Linked DNA regions of Homo sapiens: all the other regions are linked to region 2. The links are contacts of gene promoters, found by promoter capture Hi-C in blood cells and fetal thymus (Javierre and others, 2016). All regions are on one chromosome and are shown on one strand. Each heading gives the region's core, a stretch centred on a gene start or on the middle of the fragment in contact. The rest is flanking DNA. Distances are from core to core; before and after follow the strand shown.

Evidence for each region. The method cuts DNA at HindIII sites, captures the fragments that hold promoters and counts their contacts. A CHiCAGO score of 5 or more calls a contact.
Region 1: a contact is called between a fragment that was not itself captured here and the fragment with the promoter of DHRS12 in region 2, in 2 of 17 cell types (activated CD4 T cells and neutrophils). The highest score is 5.5, in activated CD4 T cells.
Region 3: a fragment that was not itself captured here is called in contact with the fragment with the promoter of DHRS12 in region 2 in 2 of 17 cell types (naive CD4 T cells and activated CD4 T cells); the score reaches 7.1 in naive CD4 T cells.
Region 4: a fragment that was not itself captured here is called in contact with the fragment with the promoter of DHRS12 in region 2 in 2 of 17 cell types (fetal thymus and naive CD8 T cells); the score reaches 6.8 in fetal thymus.

Annotation. Positions count from the first base shown.
Region 1 is chr13:50,118,561-50,121,621 of GRCh38, forward strand. All of the region lies in intron 1 of DLEU2 (deleted in lymphocytic leukemia 2), which reads right to left. The region is part of intron 2 of DLEU1 (deleted in lymphocytic leukemia 1); the gene reads left to right. Among named protein-coding and RNA genes, the nearest start is that of DLEU2, 5.4 kb to the right of the region's middle. The HindIII fragment of the contact is 7,720 bases long and covers 1-3,061 here.
Region 2 is chr13:51,802,720-51,805,944 of GRCh38, forward strand. It overlaps DHRS12 (dehydrogenase/reductase 12), which reads right to left and starts at 1,444. Exons shown (of 9, transcript NM_001377533.1): 1 at 1,335-1,444. LOC107984561 (a long non-coding RNA gene) reads left to right here and starts at 1,117. Exons shown (of 2, transcript XR_007063805.1): 1 at 1,117-2,082. RefSeq lists a silencer at 1,005-1,644 and an enhancer at 2,195-2,324. The HindIII fragment of the contact is 7,862 bases long and covers 241-3,225 here.
Region 3 is chr13:50,076,925-50,080,186 of GRCh38, forward strand. The region is part of intron 1 of DLEU2 (deleted in lymphocytic leukemia 2); the gene reads right to left. Among named protein-coding and RNA genes, the nearest start is that of DLEU1, 3.6 kb to the right of the region's middle. The HindIII fragment of the contact is 1,071 bases long and covers 888-1,958 here.
Region 4 is chr13:49,937,394-49,940,375 of GRCh38, forward strand. No RefSeq gene overlaps it. Among named protein-coding and RNA genes, the nearest start is that of SPRYD7, 2.5 kb to the left of the region's middle. The HindIII fragment of the contact is 853 bases long and covers 1,244-2,096 here.

The DNA of each region.
Region 1 (3,061 bases), core at 208-2,707, 1.7 Mb before region 2:
TTTTAAGACCCCAGAAAGGTAATAGATAAGACTGAAAGTTTTTTTTTTCTTTTTTTTTTCTTTTGAGACCAAGTGTTGCTCTGTTGCCCAGGCTGCAGTGCAGTGGCACGATCTTGGCTCACTGCAACCTCCACCTCCCGGGTTCAAGTGATTCTCCTGCCTCAGCCTCCCGAGTAGCTGGGATTACAGGCACAGGCCACCCTGCCCGGCTAATTTTTATATTTTTTTTAGTACAGATGGAGTTTCACCATGTTGGCCAGGCTGGTCTCAAACTCCTGTCCTCGTGATCCGCCCGCCACGGCCTCTCAAAGTGCTGGGATTACAGGCGTGAGCCACCTCGCCCAGACAAGACTGAAAGTTTTATTGCACTCTTAGTGGCACTGGTTATCAGCACTTATTTTCAATCTTTGTCAATCTGACGGGGGAGGGGTCTCTTTCTGTAATTTAATTAGGCAAAGTTGAATTTTTACTCACATATTCATAGGAATAACTTTACTACCTTAAGGACTTGTAATTCTTTGTTTTTTTACTTAAGAAGATTGCATTTAGTTCTTAATGTATTTGTAGACAGAGCATTATTACTATTTTTTTTTTTTTTTTTTTTTTTTTGAGACGGAGTCTCGCTGTCGCCCAGGCTGGAGTGCAGTGGCGCAATCTCGGCTCACTGCAGGCTCCGCCCCCTGGGGTTCACGCCATTCTCCTGCCTCAGCCTCCCGAGTAGCTGGGACTACAGGCGCCCGCCACCTCGCCCGGCTAATTTTTTGTATTTTTAGTAGAGACGGGGTTTCACCGTGTTAGCCAGGATGGTCTCGATCTCCTGACCTCGTGATCCGCCCGCCTCGGCCTCCCAAAGTGCTGGGATTACAGGCGTGAGCCACCGCGCCCGGCCGCATTATTACTATTAGCTAGCAAGATCATATTTTCTTTTTTTAAGACCCTAAGCTATGTGATCCTGGTATCATATTTTCTGTATTGAATTTATTTCTCCATGTGCCAGTTTCACTACACTTTCCAAAGTGCTACTAAATGCTTAGTTTATAAGGTTTTAAAAAACTCACTGCATAATTACTTTAAAATAATTTCCTCAACCCTGCCTTCATTCAAAATGTCTGGAGACAGACTGGCCCACTTCCAATTTTCTTTCACGTTATCATTACTGTGAAGTCATTCTATAGATAGGAGAGCATTCTGGCATACAGAAAAACAGCATCTGTGAAACTATATGGCACAGTTTGGTTGGGGTTGTTGCTCCTTCAGAACCGCATTATGTAATTTTAGTGTTTACTTAAGCTCCTTTGGGCTGCCTCCGTGGTAGCTATGAGCTCACAGAGAAGTAAGTACAGTTTAGATCTGATAGCAAAGTCTATCAGTTTATCCTGAATGCTGCATCCTTTTTTTGTTGTTGTTGTTAAATCATTACTGTATGAGAAACTTTAAAAACAAAGGTATAGTTTCTTCATTTTATTTTTTAAAAAAGCTACTTCAAACATCATTAAGTAATACACCAAAAAATAAAGGGTTCATAAATATATATTTGCTCCTTATCTGGACGTACTTATTTAAAAACTCATATTCTACAGTATGAACTTACAGTGTGATTTTGACTCAACATAAATATAAATATGCAAAATTACCAAAATTAGAGGGATTAGCCTTTAGGAAAGTACAAATTATTAAAATGGCCTAAGCACTATTTCTATTTCTAAGTCATAGAGGAAGCACATTTAATATTTCTTAAAAAAAACAAAAAACACCAAAGATGTATAAGTTAATATCAGCTTAGGGAGAATTTTACAAGATACTAGGTTATAAGAAAAGATTATTTAACCTTGATTATTCAATGAAAAGTAGTATTTTCAGTTTTTTAGAGCGATAACTCTTGAGTCTCTCTACCAAACAAATAATTATATATGCTGGTTTAAAATAAAAATAAATCAGTCTGCATTATAAAGGTGGGAGAAGTATCCATTTTTTTATTGTAATAATCAAGTGTTACGTCGCCTTCATAGGAAACATGCATACTCTTATAAAATACTTAAAAGCCTCAACTGTTCCTTTAGAATTACTGATTTTGATGAATAAACAAGCCCCAATAAAGTCAATATCGTAACATCTAAAAGCATATTGTCCCTTTTGGGAAATGTCATTTTGTTTTAATTATTATTATAAAATTACTTACTGGAATATTCTCCATAGCATTTTGCTTTTTAATTTTGAGAAGGACATTATGCCATTGATTGCCAGCGATCCTATGAGGTCCAAAGTTGGGATAACTCATGGAGGGCAAAGAAAAAAGTTTTCATCACCGTGGAGGTACAGCTACTGTGAATGTCCTACCTAGTTTGGGAGAGAAGGGTATGTGTGCACAGGAGGCCTGACCTGGAGGGAATGGACACAGGGAGAAGAAAGGTGCAGGAAGATTATGAGACAGACTGCCTACTCAAGTTGGCTCAGGATTAGCTTTGCTGGAACATTTAAATGTTTGGGTTTTTATATTTCATTCTAATATAAAAAAGAGGGTATTTATTAGGTTTCTTATGTTTAAACTTTTCTAATGTACAAATGTACTGTTTATAAATCTATTTATCAGAAGTTACATGTGGTGATTTTAAACATGTTGCAAATTGACACTCCTACCATTAAAAGGTGGAGTCTAATTCCCCTCCCCAGAACACATATGGCCTTAGTAATTTGCTTTTAACAAACGGAAGTGATGGATATGATGCTGCATGGCTTCTAAGACTAGGTTATAAAAAATGATACAGTTTTACCAGGTGTGATGGCTCACGCCTGTAATCCAAACACTTTGGGAGGCCGAGGCGGGCGGATCACAAGGTCAGGAGATCGAGACCATCCTGGCTAACACGGTGAAACCCCCTCTCTATTAAAAATACAAAAATCAGCCAGGCGTGGTGGCACGTGCTTGTAGTCCCAGCTGCTCAGGATGCTGAGGCAGGAGAATCACTTGAACCTAGGAGGCATAGGTTGCAGTGAACTGAGATCGCGCCACTGCACTCCAGCCTGGGTGACAGAGTGAGACTCTGTGATACAGTTTCCATCT
Region 2 (3,225 bases), core at 194-2,693:
TCAAAACAAGGTTGTTGTTTTTCTCTCCTATTCACTAAATCCACAACAGCAGGAAAACCCATCTAACTTTGCCAACTGCCTTCCCCTCCCCTCCCTTCCCCCACCAATCTGTGGTGGATTGGGCCCCTTGGCCTCACTTCTACCTTCCCTCAAGGTGGGGAAATCAGAGCGAAAGAGTCCTGGGAGAAATTTTTACAGTCTGCTTTCCTTGGGGCCCACCCCTGGTTGGAAACTGACTTAAGCTTTCATGCTGTGTAATGTGGAAAGATCCAGCAATTAATGGTCATTGCCAGAGGACACCCCTTTGAAAGAAAGAGGCTGCCACTGTATTCCCCTAAAAACTGTGGGACAGGGCTCACGACTACACTCCCCACCATTCTCTGCAGCAGGGGCTCCTGAGACAGAGCTGAACCTTCTCCAAAACGATGTGGGGTGAAGAGCAGGGAGTTGCAACTCCTACCTCCCCTAGGAGTGCTGGCCAGGTTGCCGTGGGAACTGATAAAGCCCCAGTGCAGGGAGAAGCCTCTCAGAGGTGAGAATCACCTGGGGCATTTGGATGAAATGCCAGTCCAGGCCCCTGTGCAGATCCACTAAATCAGAATCTGTAGGGATGGGGCCTGAAAACTGGGTACTTTTAATTCTCGCCCAGTGATTCTGATGTGCAGACAGGGTTGAGAACCAGCGGTTAGCCTAATCAATTCTAAGAGAAAACCTCCATCTCTCCTCCGTCACAGGAACCTGTCACCTCTTAAAACCACAATGAGGTGGAGAGCCAACTAGGGCACACTGAGCGTGGTCACGGGGCGACGAAACCACCACGCACCGTTCCCCAGAAGCACACACTGGCTGGAAAGTTCCAGCTGGAGCCAAAGGTCGCAGTCCAGGTGCTGCATCTTTTTAAAGGAAACACACCCAAAGGCACTAGGACAGAGCCTTAGCTAGCGATTTAGATCCAGCCCTATCTGACGCCGCCAGCAGCACCACGAAGACACTTCCACGAGCACACCCAGCGGGGCGCCGAGGTGCCGCCCAAGAGGCTCCTTGGCGCCGGGGCCGCCTGACGTCAGTGGGACGGCCCTGGGCTTGGGCGCGCCACAGCCCCGCCCCTCGGGCGCCAGTCTCGGTCGCGGGCATTGAGCGGCTGGAGTCTGGCGACTGCCCCACGCCCAGCCGTGGGTCGCTAGACGGCGGGCGCACCCGTCGTTCTGGACACGCTTAGTCGGCCCAGCGAGAGGGCGAAGGAGCCGCGGGCGCGTCCCCGCCAACCCTGCTCGCCCGCGCCGAGGCGGGCCACGTGACAGCCCGGGGCCCCGCGCCCCGCCGCGCCGCCTTACTTGGTGTACTCGCGCAGCCCCTTGGCGAACCACACGACGCTGCGGTACAGGGACATGCCGGGAGCGCCCCACGCCTAGCCCCACCGCGCTCCCGGCGCGGCCTCCGCCCTGGTCCCGCCCCCCGGGAGTCGCCCGCCCTGACATCATCCCGGTTATGTAAGAGCCGCGGCTTCCGGTTCCTTGCTCCACCGGTAAGGCAAGGGGTCTCGGGGCCGGCCGGTCGACTCCGCCCCAGCCTCAGAGGGTGGAGTGAGGGCGGACCGGCCCTGGTGGGGGCCGCAGTCGAGGTCCGCAGTCTCCTCGGGGTCGAAATCGGGCATCAGCGCCGTTTAGAGAACACCGTCCTGCTGGGCATGGCCGGGATGCGAAGATGGCCCTGCAACGCACCTCCTAGAATTTGGTTACCTAGAAAACCATGTGGAATAAAACGACGAGGCTTATGATATTTAAAAGACTTCTGCATCGAATTGGTGTTATCATAAGGGTTATTTTAATAACTGGCATTCTCTAAGTTTCTACACGTGTTGGGGGATGCAGTGCCGTGCCACATTTCCCGTCTCCAGCAAGCGCAGTCAGATTGGCGACATCGCAGGCAAGAGGCAGGGCTGGGGCTCCCACCCGAGAAGTAATTGTCTCCAAAGTTGGACTTTTGCCACTGGTTCTGCGACTTCATGCAATGCCAGGGAGAGCCCCTTGATTTCCCCCAAATCCTCATCAGCCTCTTTCCACCCAAGCCCAGATGAACAGTGTGAGTAAAAAAGAGTGTGGTTGCTGCGTGAACCCAGATCTCAGACTAGTCATCCAGCCCCATTATGTAGGACTCAGACACCCCTGTCCACATCTAACCTCCAGCCCTAACGCCACATTAGAAATGGGGGTCTTACTGCTGCTGTCACTCCTAGTCACCCTGTTAAATTCTATACCGGTTTACCCAAGTCGCCCAGAGACTGGGCCCCACTTACATAAGCTGAAGAGACCAGCTGCTTTAATAGCCTCATTACCTAGGATATAGGATCACTGTCCAACCTCACTCCACAGTGGGCAAGTTTTTACTTCAGAATAACTTTTGAAATAAATTTCCCCGGAACAGCTCGCCCCTCTCAACAGGACTCTGAGGCTCCACTACGTTGCTGTTATTCCTGACAGAGTGATGAAAGGAAATTTAAACAAGTGGCATTTTGTAAAACCACCCCAGCCTGTGTGACTTTCAATGCCTGTCCGATTTGGCTGGGAAAATATTTTAGATCCCCAGGGCTACATACTGTTTTTTATACCCTCCTCTTTGTGTCAGTGATGGAAAAGGTGTCAATCTGCTCTGAATCTCTCTGAACACCTCAGGAAATAGGCTTTTGGCTCGCAGAGAGGGGATGAGAAATAGTTTTGAACCACCAAGTCTCTTGGAGGGTGTCAGCAGCCCCTTGAAGTAAAAGTGTGGCTGCAAACCCAGCTCTCTGCATTAGCCAGGTGAACCTGAGCATGCTGCATACACCCTCAGTCTTGGTTTCTTAATATGTAAAATGGGAATGAATATGCGCACCTCGTGGGGTGGTTGTGATTAAAGGCATTCATTATAAAGAGCTTAGTTTCATACAAAGTGATCAGAAGTGTTGGTTTCCCTCCTTAAGTTTTCTTCTCATTCCTTTTTCCCCTGCGCTTACAGCCATGCAGTGTACATTCAAGAAATTTCCATGAGGGCATGAGGTGTCCAGTGTTAGCCTCAAATCAAGCATCCACGAGGTAGTTAGTGTATACATTATATACATTTAAAGAGGAGGTCTTAGGAAAAGCCAAACCCTGTCTCAAAATGAGCTTCCACTCTCACCTGGATGCCAAGTAACACACACACACAAACAAAGGGCAGTATGGAGTTCACAAGGGAATGTTCCCGTTT
Region 3 (3,262 bases), core at 173-2,672, 1.7 Mb before region 2:
TACATGCCAAATGTTAAGTTTTTAAATAGTAGGGAGATGAAAAATACTAACCAATAAGAAGCAAAAGAGGTCTGGATATAAATAAAATAATAAACCAATGTGTATGATAAAAAAGGCAATATTAAAAAACCTTCAAATAGTAAAACTCAAATCTAAAATCTATTACAAAATAGAGCTTACTATTTATTCTTAGAAACCACTACAAGTTATTCCAGTACAAATTTTCTTTACTGAAATAAGGCAGGATTAACCAAAGGTATAGTAAACTTCTTATAATTTGATAAGAAATATTAATAATATTCAAATATATATTTAATATCAATTTCAATATTTAAAACTTGTCTTTCTAAAAGGAAGATCCTTTAAAGCATCTCTAATACAGATCAAAAAATAAAAACAAAAAACCAACCGAGGCAAAAAAATAAAAAACATTCAGTTCCCCACCAGAAAGTAATATTTATATGATCTACGAGATAAATAAACATATAATAGTAATGTGATATTCTAAAAATCTATCCTGTTACTCTTAAGACAATCATGACATTAAAGTTCTAATACTGTCACTTCCAAAAATTAAATGCTTAATCTCATTTTCAATGCTTATTTGAAATAAAGTGGTATTTTATTACTGATTTCCTTTGGTGTTATGAGATTTGGGGCTACAAAATTTCAGCAAGTCATAGTTGAGCTCTAATTATGTGCCAAAATTAGTTGCCTGGCATACAATGTTTCAAAGTTTGCTGAATTAAAAACAAAACAAAACCAAAAACCCCCACGAAACTATATATATGACAATTTTTTCTAAGATGTGTTTTCTAGTTATAATCAGACCTAAAATCTGTGTCTTCTAAAAAGGGGTTAAAAAGAAATTAATATGTGAATTTTTAAGCTTCATTAGACAGAAGAAAAAAAACACAAGAGCCAATTTTAGGTAATATTTTAAAATAAGAGAAATTTTTATAGAATAATTTTTTGAAACTATAAATTTATCATCTTCTTTTGAAGAAAGCTAATGTGTCATATATAATAATTATCTAATACAGTCTCTGGGAATTTTTTTTCATTTTGTAAACCAAATCAACTGACCCATATTTCTGGCTTTAAGTATTCTGTGACATTCCAAATAGTTACTACCTACCAATAAACAAACAAACAAACAAAAATACACACAAGTCTCCACAAAACAAAACAAACGAAAATGTACTACATAAAGCATGATGAAACCAGGAATCTAGACTATGAAAGCTACTTTAAAATTTTTATCCTTAGCTGTAGTTCATGCTAAACATTAAAACTCATATTAATCTGATTAGAAAAAATATGCAGTGTTACATACAAACACCCGAGGCTACATTTTCTGAATGTACAACTAAGACAGGTCAACAGTATTTTTTTAAAAAGTCTGAAACTGCACTTTTATTTGAATTTTTAAAAATAGTGTGGGGGCAAACAAATGAAAATCAATGCTACCAGGAAGACTGATACCTTACCAGTCCCCTTTCCCCCACAATAGGTAAACATAACTTTAAAAAGGGGTGACCTATTATAGCAACACCACACCCCGCAGTTGCTTTCCTATGGTAATAAATGACTTTGTAATACAAAATAAATTACAACTGTCAATTTCTACAGAGAAATATGGATAAGTGCACATAAACATTAAAAAATACACATATGTTGTAACTTATACCTATATGCCCACAAGTCTAAAACCAAAATCTTCCTCTTATATAGCATCACATAAAAGTGAAAATATTTTGAATGCTGTGGATTTTATTTAGGCGCTAGTGTATTCTCAAATTTGAAGTGATGTATTTTAAATAAAGGAATCACTTCTTTTAAAAATGGCTTATTAAACAAACAATCCTTTACCCATTACCCCCTAAACAAACAAAAAATCCCATAAACCAAAGTGCTAAAAATGTATGGTTATACTTAACCAGCCTGGTGGAATTTAAAGCTTGCCCCCAACTCTTCCCAAAACTCACGTAATTTGAATGAGAATACAAAACTCAAAACAAAAACCATCAGTAAAAAGCAAAACCCAGGAGTTCTGGTACTTTAGGTATAATTACGTTTAAAATAGAAATGAGATCTCCTAAAATTTCATTAAATCAAATTTTATAGAGAAGATAATTAGCACCTTCTATGAAATTTTCATAAGATGACCCAAAATAAATAGCTTTGAACAAAGGTAATGAAAAGGGATCTGTTATCACAATTCTTGTTATGAGGGCAGTACAAAATAGTATGAATTATAAACTCAGCTATTCCACTTACTAATGTAAATTATATTTACAGCCCTACAGAGATTTATAAAAGCCATAAGATTTTTTATTTGAATATTTTTTAACAATGCGTATTTGACTTAATGCGAACATACACACTATAAGCTTCAAAATTTAACTACTATTCATAAAAGAATATAAACGTCTATTAAATTAAAACAATTGTTTCTCAAAGCATCTACAGCTGTTTATCAGTTAGTTTGCCGCTGTTCTTTGAAAACGACACCTGCCTTTTATCAAGATGCAATTAAATGGAATGACAAGCTCGGTAATAAATGGAAATATACTGAGGCTGTCTCAGGCAACATCGAACAAAAATCAACTGAAAATCAACCAGATAAAAAACAGCACACCCACACTGTTGTATACAATATATTTCTTCATAATGAATTTATCAAAGGAACTAAATAATAGATACGCACCTGTGCTTACCTGTTGTCTAAATTAAGAAACATAAATGTTTTGTAAATTAAAGTTTTAGTTCACTGCAGTTACTGAATTAGCAAAATGTATATTTTCACTAGATGCGAAAAGTTTTTTAAATAAGATGTTCAATTTTTATGGAAAATGTTAAAAAGATCATTCGTGAACCTTAAGAAAATTAGTTTCTTTGCATCAAAATAAAAGAAACAACTGTCCGGTAATCTGCATCCAACAAATATATGTAGTTTAAGGTGAAAAATTCCTATCAAAGGAAAAAAACTAAATTTTTCACTCAGTTTTTAACCAATAAAGAACAGTGACAAATATATAAAAGTCTTGTTAATTTCAACCAGCAGAAACATAATTTTGCGAAAACAGCCTCTTCAGTTTTACTTTTAATATACATTTGAGAACCACACGAAAATCCTTTCTGAGAGGAAAAAAAACTATTAAAAACCAACTTTTTTTCTAAACTCTCGTCCTAACGTTTCGTAGCTATTTCCGTGGTTCTCTGGCTAAAAGTATATTTTTTCGTAAAGTCGAGAATTATA
Region 4 (2,982 bases), core at 420-2,919, 1.9 Mb before region 2:
CTACTAAAAATACAAAAATTAGCTGGGTGCGGTGGTGCACGCCTGTAATCCCAGCCACTCAGGAGGTTGTGGCACGAGAATCGCTTAAACCCGGGAGGCGGAGGTTACAGTGAGCCTAGATCGCGCCACTGCCCTCCAGCCTGGGCAACAGAGACTCTGTCTCCAAAAAAAAAAAAAAAAAAAAAAAGATACCGCTTGGCATCTGGAAATGTCTGGGACGACCTCTAGAATTAACCTAGCTCAAACCTCTGTTCCCAGATCAGTTTCATCCTGAAGGCTTCCCTAGGGATGGATCATCAAGTCCTGGGAAACTGGACATAAAATGCCCACTACTTAAATAATGATTTCCCATACGTAACTTTTAGTGACCCGAGTTATAAATGTTTTTTAAGGAGGATTTCTATCTATGCAATGAGGGGAATTTTTCAGGTTCCTGGTTCTCTTTCTATAAATGGTGTTTTCATTACAATACTAAGGGAAAGTTTTGTACGTTGAAATTAAGTTACCATAGAATTTAATAACCAAGGTGATTATTAAACTGATTGAGGGTTGGTCTTTTCCCCCATTGCGTATGCAGTACTTTCTTGGTAATCATTTCACACAAGAAATTTTCTTTTATGACAAACCTTCATCGTTATGCTGGGAATTAAGTGCTTTGATTTTTTTTTTTTTTTTTTTTTTTAACCCCAGGGAAGTGCTGGGGGCGGGGCAGGGGGTGAGAATTTTAACAGAATATTGGAGAGACAAAATTTTTCTACCGTTCATATATATATATCTAGTTGAATTATTTCAAGATTTCAAGGTCAGTATTGTCCCCATTTTATAGGTGAAGAAATAGGCCTAGAGGTACTAAACTTTACAACTTCAGGTGAGCAGGAGATAAACAGGTAGGATTCAAGGCTTACCAGTCTGATTCCTGTTAGAAGAAAAACTTCAGCTGAACTAAATTTAAAGGAGTTAAACTGAGCAGTGAATGACTGGGCAGCCCCCAGAATCACAGCAGATTCAGAGAGACTCCAGGGATGCCTCGTGGTCAGAACAAATTTTTAGACAAAAAGAGGGAAGTGACGTACAGAAATCAGCAGTGAGATACAGAAACAGCTGCATTGGTTACAGGGGGGCGTTTGCCTTATTTGAACACAGTTTGAACAATCAGCAGTGTATGACTGGTTGAAGTATGGCCGCTGGGATTGGCCAAGACTCAGCTATTGTTACAGGTGCATACTCCTAAATTAGGTTTTCAAGCTTGTCTGCCTATTAACCTAGGTTACAGTTCGTACACAAGGACTCAAATACAGAAGTACAGAGTCCTTCTCAGGCCATATTTAGTTTGCTTTAACACTGCCTCTCAAATTCTTTCTCTTATAATTAATGCTATAATCCTCTTAAACATGCTCTCAGTTCAAAATGCAGATTTGCCCTTTTTTGTGTGTTTCATTTATCTCCACATTGGATATAAGCTGCCATAATGCATGTATAGACAAAATATAATAGAATTAGTTGTTATAAAGTAAAAATTTTGTTCAGAAATATTATTAAAAGAAGTACATGTATTATATATGTAATAAACATTTAGGCCATTCAAGTCAGTCACATCTTCAATGAAAAGCCAGACACTAAATGGCCGTGAATTGGACATTACTATAGAGAGGCAGAAGGGCCATAGTCTTTCCTAGCTGGAAAAGTAATTTGCTGGGGCGCTGCCCGGTGCACTTTGCCCCCATCCTAGCAACTCGAGTGTGCTCAGCAGAATGAAGTTAGCAAAACTGGTTAGCTCCTGAAACAGACTTCCCTGTCTTGGCAGATTAACACCATCCATGAGCTCACTTTTCCTTCTAATATCTGGGATTCTAATATCCATTCATTATTACTTTCAAAGGAATTATCCTCTCTTTTTGAAAAGCACAACGTTAAAGATGTTTTGACACTCTTTCACAGCTATCGCTTTAAATAACAATCACAAATAAAGCCAAAAATAGTTTCTCAAGGTCATTTATCTAAGTCATAAGCAATAAGAAAGAATGACTACTTCAAAAAAAGAGTCTGTCTGCTTCCAAGACATGCCAGGAACTCGAGAACTGAGAACAATAATGTAAAGCTTGTGTTTCAGAGTTGAGATTAGCATTATGCTTAAGATTTTCTTTAATGTTTTTTATGCCAGCTGGACGTCTTCTGTTAGTGAATTTCCCATTCTGTACTGGGTCATACGAAATGAGTTTTTAAAAACTCATTAATCAGTTATTAAACAAAACATTTTTCCTTAGACTAATCCAAACCACATTTGTGATCTTTTTAAAAATCAGAAACATTAACAAAAACTCATTTTTCTAAAAACTGACATATTTCTGGAGCCTTGACCAATTCATTATTATAATTTTGAGTAACTAATAGTGATTGACATTTATGTAGTGCTTATTATTGCCAGGCACTGTTCTAAGTGTTTTTTAAAAATAAACTAATTTAGTCTTTGTAACAACCATGTGAGGGAAAAACTATCCTCCACTTTACAGATGAGGAAGCTGAAGAAAAAATAAGAAATGTACTCAAAAGTTGCACAGTCAATGAAGGATGAAGCTAAATTCAAACAGACATTCTGGCTCTAGGGTCTGTGTTCTTAACCACTCTGCAAACTGCCTCCTAGGGTGTTACATTTAAAAATACATTCCTAGGTCTGGTGCGGTGGTTCACGCCTGTAATCCCAGCACTTTGGGAGGCCGAGGGATATGGACTGCCTGAGCTCAGGAGTTCGAAACCAGCCTGGGCAACATGGTGAAACCCTGTCTCTACTAAAAACAAACAAAAAAATTAGCCGGGCATGGCAGTGTGTGCCTGTAATCCCAGCTACTTGGGAGGCTGAGGCAGGAGAATCGCTTGAACCCAGAGGCGGAGGTTGCAGTGAACCAAGATCGTGCCATTGCACTCCAGCCTGGGTGACAGAGCAAGACTCTATCTCAAAAAAAAAATAAAAAAATAAAAAATGAA